2 separate regions of the Homo sapiens genome follow, and region 2 is linked to region 1. Evidence: promoter capture Hi-C in human tissues and cell types (Jung and others, 2019). All regions are on one chromosome and are shown on one strand. Each heading gives the region's core, a stretch centred on a gene start or on the middle of the fragment in contact. The rest is flanking DNA. Distances are from core to core; before and after follow the strand shown. Region 1 holds the start of CNBD1 (cyclic nucleotide binding domain containing 1). Region 2 overlaps CNGB3 (cyclic nucleotide gated channel subunit beta 3).

Region 1 (2,700 bases), core at 40-2,539:
TGAATAGTAGAAGCTGTGTTTCTTCAGCAAAATTGCACTTAATTCTTATTTCCACTCAAGTAGAAATAGAAAACTTTGACCAGATGCAAGATTATTTTCACTATAATACAAATGGAATTAATTTTGTTTAACATAAGGATTTTGTCTAACACTATTCAAGACATCAGTGTACCCCTTCAAGGAGTATCAACTGCCACCTGTTATACCTTTTAACCTGGAGACTATGAGCATTAATTTTTTAAAATGTATTTGGAGAAATTAACTTTCACAGGAAGGGAAAAGGATGGATGGCTTAGCTTCTTCAAATCAATACTATAAATCTGCCCAATGAATAATAAAATAAGAGTTAATGCTTTATTGAAGTTGAAAAGGATCACAAGTATTACCTTTGTTATCCAGATATTTTTTAAAAATCTTAACTAACACTGGAACTCATACATATTGCTAGTCAGAATGATGGTGTTCAAATAATAGATCTTATAAATTCGATGGCCATGAGAAGTGTTTACAATCTTAAGAAAACGTTATAGGTTTAGACTAATTACATAAAATGAGAAAATACTGTCAATTATATAAACTTTGAAATATCTAGTTCTATACTTAATTCTTATAAGTAAGACTAGAAAATAAAAAAGTTAAATAGGAATAAATTTCACAGTCAGAATAGTAGGAATTATCTTTTTTTCCTTGTCAAATTGAAATGAGAATTCTCCTAGAGAATATTAAGTATTAATTATCCCATTAAGCGTAGTAGGACCAACTCTTGGTAGGGAGTAGAAGATCTGCTAGAAAAAGGAACCTGATAGCTGGTGGAACATGTGGCCTCTCTAAATCTTTGTTTTCTTTCATCTTTAGAAATATTTCAATGTATCTGAAGCTCTAAGAGTTCGTAAAGATCCTCATTTTACAGAGAAAAAATACTTAAGACCTAGAGTACTGAAATGACTTCAAGTAGACCAAGCAGGATTTACACATCTATGTTCTTTCCATTCTTCAGCACTGTCAATAAGATTCCCAATGTCCCTATCAACCCTGAAATACCCCCAATTTTCATAGCTGGGGTAAGAACCGCTGAAAACAATGGTAGGTGAATAAGAGCATCAAAGTATTTCCCACTCACTTGGTATACTGTGAAGTGGAGGAGGAGGCACATTGTTAATAGCTGTCATGTGAGACAAAATAGCTGCTGGAAGAGAAGACATCGGCATCTTGATGGCTCAAAGGCAGATAGATGACCAGAGGCTGCTTGAGAGGCAAATGATCACTCTTTGCCTGCAGGCTCATAAAGCAGAACTTCAAGGTCCTCTCTGATAGGTTGAATCCTACGGAATCTTCTTGTTCATAGTTCTTATCCATTGTTTGTGCATTTCCAAGAGTGTCATCTAGACCAGGAAGAACTATGCTACATTTTAGTCCAGTGGAAATCATAAGGAGGACTTTATGAGCTATAGAGAGTAGCAATAATGAAGAAGGAAACTGTAGCCCACAAGGCTGATACAGCAGAATCAACAGCACTCATGAGTCTAGGTGAAATGAAAGTATTCACTTCCTTGGTCTTCCATAGTCCAGAGCCCTTTTCCTGCCTACCAAATGTTTACACTGGGTATCACAGGCCCTTTCTGTACCAGCAGTAACAGAGATAGCATATTTATACTGTTCTTCATGGCCACATTTATAGGGTAAACCATCCCTTCTAATTATCATACACCAATAAACCCACCCCAGCTTACATTTAACTATATTCTGCTAGAGTGTGGAACATGTTTTTTTGTTATTTTCTGCTGCTTCACAATAATTAAGGATAGTTACAATGGCTAGGGTTTACAATCCTAACTAATGTATCTTTTGATGCTGTGTATTATCTTCCAAGGCCTTTAGAAATAGGGTCCTGGTATCATAACTGTTAGAGTGATACGGACAGGAGACAGGGAAACACTGGGTAGAAGAGGGCAGTTCCCCAGTAAAGGCCCCACCCTCAAGCCTGGAGACCTGCGGCCCTAGATTGGGACAGGCATTCCTGTTTTTGCACCTAAAAAGTTGCCTTTTGGCCTGCAACACACCCTATCCTGTACCCATATAAACCCTGAATCCCAGGCTCCAGAAGCAGACGAAGAGATGAGACAAATAGATGAATGGCAGAATGACAGGCAGAGAAAGTGAGAAAAGGAGGAACATCTGAACACTGAGAGGAGTTCAGCCACTGTACGGCCAAACTCCAGGGGAAGATCATTTTCCCACTCCATCCCCCTTCCAGCTCCCCATCCATCCTGCTGAGAGCCACCTCCACCACTCAATAAAACCCTGAGTTCTTCCTTCAAGCCCATGTGTGACCCAGTACTTCTGGGATGCTGGGCAAGAATTCAGGATACAGAAAGCTATCACACTGGCCCTCTACCCTTGTGAAAAGGCAGAGGGTCCATTGAGCTTGTTAACATCAAGCCATCCATGGAGGGTAGGGCTACAAGGGCACACTGCAACACAATGCCCACTTGGGCTCCTGCACCTGTCCGTCTGTGTGCTCCCCCTCCCCACAGGGTTTGAGCAGCAGCGATGACCAACCAAGCAGGCAAACCACAGCCCTGTCACACATTCTGTGAGGGGAATCAGGGAACTCCCCCATTTCATCAGGTAATATACAAAAGGACTGTGGCTGTCTGATACCTGAACTGGACTAGCAGAGTGTAAACCAACCATTTCTGG
Region 2 (2,700 bases), core at 9-2,508, 170 kb after region 1:
GTCCCCAATAATAACTACTTATTTTTGACCATTTAAAAGTAATTTTTAAGGTCTTAAATGGTAAAATTCGTAACAAATGAGTATAAAAATACTTCAGGGGAATTGACCATTTCCCAGTAGTTATCTATTGAATTATTTACAAAATAAAATCTACCATGAGATAGTATAATAGTGATTGTCCAGTAAGAGAGCTATGTTTTAAATATATTATTGCACTGTTCGGGCTTTCACTGGGAAAGAATTTTAAAAATAATAAACAAATGCATTATTGCATGGTTATCTTTCTGTTTTTCTAATCTTTTAAATTACTTCAAGCAGTCCACAGAGAGCCTGTCTTCAAAAACTGAGTAATTATTTATCTAGATATGATGTAGAGAGGATTCTTGTTTAAGTGCAATTGAATTAGAAGATTTATGAGATGTCCTCCAAAGCTTGTCTTCTGTGCCCCACTTCACAAAAATTATGGCATATTATTGGTGTTAGAGCCCCATATTTATTTCAAGAAATACTTCAACACTGAAAGAAATTAAATTCCATAAATTCTGTAATATTACCAATGTTGACATATTTTGCTAATTTAAACTTAAAATTTTGAAGTTCCAGTTTATACTCTCTACCTGTCTGCTTGCCAAAGAGATTTTTCTAAAGCCAAGGAACAGCTGAATCTAAAAGATGGGAGGGATAGTTACTATGTGCATAAATTTTAATTGAAAGAATTATGAGCTCATAGCTGTTAAAATAGAAAATAACAGGTTCATTTGCATACCTTCCCAAAGTATAAAAAATTAAAGCATTTGTTCTAGGCTGCGGAGGCAGGGATTTTAGTGGAGCTAGGATTCAATATTTGCAATATTGTTTATATTTTAAACTATATGGACCATGATAATTATCCAGAAACTATTAAGATTGGGAATGATTCAAAAACATTCCTTCCCAGCCGGGCACAGTGGCTCACGCCTGTAATCCCAGCACTTTGGGAGGCTGAGGCTGGCAGATCATTTGAGGCCAGGAGCTCAAGACCAGCCTGGCCAACATGGCAAAACTCTGTCTCTAAATACAAAAATACAAAAATTAGCCAGCGTGGTGGCACAGTCTATAATCCCAGCTACTCACAAGGTTGAGGCATGAGAATTGCTTGAACCCGGGAGATGGAGGTTGCAGTGAGCCGAGATCATGCCACTGCACTCCAGCCTGGGTGTCAGAGCAAGACTCTGTCTCAAAAAATAAAAAATAAAACTTCTTCACCTTGGTCTACCAGTCCATCTACTTTCAGTTCAGTCCACTGGTTTTGATTCACACCATAACCTGACGATATTGGAGATGTGAGGAGAAAAGGAAGTAGAATTTAAACAATTTAATCTCGTTAATTGTAACCAAGAGACATTTTGTAAATAGAAAATAACATTAGAAAAAGTAGTCTTACTCTAAGAAAAATTTCCAGAATTTTTACCATGACTATCACTTAAATGCAACTAGTTGAAAGTATTCATTCATGGAAATGTCCTAGTGGTAAATTTCCATACGTTTAATTGAATGGTTCTTAGTATTAAAAAAATTGAAAATGGCAGGCAATATATTTTAATAATTCCTAAGATGTCACACAAATGCCTCAGATAGAGCTGAGTTTATCACTGACAAATAGAAAGGAAAAAAAGCATAAAGAGCTTCAGATGTATGCATTAGTTAACTGAATTAAACCAATTTAAAAAAAACATTGCTTCTCATACAATGTTGCTCTTAATCTGCAGTAATTAGTTTTGGAAATGCTTAGGTCTCGTTTCTTTGAAGTTGCAATAAAAAGTTATAACAATTTAGCATCTTTGTATTACTCAAACAAGAAATTGAACATGTTAAACAAAATTTTGTGGGGGTCTTGCCATTTTATTTGGCTTGATTTGGATTGAAAGCAAAAGAAGAAAGAAAGAGAGATTGGATGATAGAGGGAGGAAAGGAAGGGAGGATGGGAAGGAGAAAAAAAGTAGGAAAGGAAATAAACTGTATTTTAGATTCCAATTGTCTCTCCTCTTAGGGAGGCTAAGAAGAAAGATTAAAGAATTCACCACCTGCAGATATTGGAAATTATGAGCATTTTTCAAATACCATACTTGGACAACCCTATAAATTTGGCAAAAGGGATCTAATACAATCAGATTGAAATTCTGGGCAATTAAATTTCTATCCAAACTAACTGCAGTTTTCAGACAATGAAAAACTTGAAAGCTTTCAGCAGTTTTTCCTTTTATTGATTGTTGTGGATGTCAGGACATTGTCATGAACCACCATCATATATCATATTCAGCAAGAATCCATAAGTACCAATAAATGGCTCATTGGAAATGGTACTTATATGCAATATATTAACATTCAGTAGTCTTTTTTATGTATTATTTTTGAGAGAGAGAGACAGATGGGGTCTCACTATGTTGCCCAGGCTGGTCTCAAACTCCTCACCTCAAGCAATCCTCCATCTTGGCCTCCCAAAGTGCTGGGATTATAGGAATGAGCCACTGCACCTGGCCAACATTCAATAGTCTTGATTTTATTGTTTACTTATAAAGTTATGGCCAATTAATTTATATCTAAATTATTATTATATAAGATTATAATGAAGAAGAGTTAAAAATTCTGTTATAATTTCCAATATGACACTAAGGTGCAACAGATGGAGTTTAAAAAAGGGGTTCAAATTGTAAGGATCTT

The links. The method cuts DNA at HindIII sites, captures the fragments that hold promoters and counts their contacts. A contact is called where the count stands out against the background at its distance.
Region 2: a contact is called between a fragment that was not itself captured here and the fragment with the promoter of CNBD1 in region 1, in 1 of the 25 tissues and cell types used here (hippocampus).

The regions. Positions count from the first base shown.
Region 1 is chr8:86,865,004-86,867,703 of GRCh38, reverse strand. CNBD1 (cyclic nucleotide binding domain containing 1) reads right to left here and starts at 1,289. Exons shown (of 11, transcript NM_173538.3): 1 at 1,121-1,289. The coding sequence starts at 1,208. The HindIII fragment of the contact is 15,353 bases long and covers 1-2,700 here.
Region 2 is chr8:86,699,175-86,701,874 of GRCh38, reverse strand. The region is part of intron 3 of CNGB3 (cyclic nucleotide gated channel subunit beta 3); the gene reads left to right. Among named protein-coding and RNA genes, the nearest start is that of CNGB3, 43 kb to the left of the region's middle. The HindIII fragment of the contact is 3,019 bases long and covers 1-2,700 here.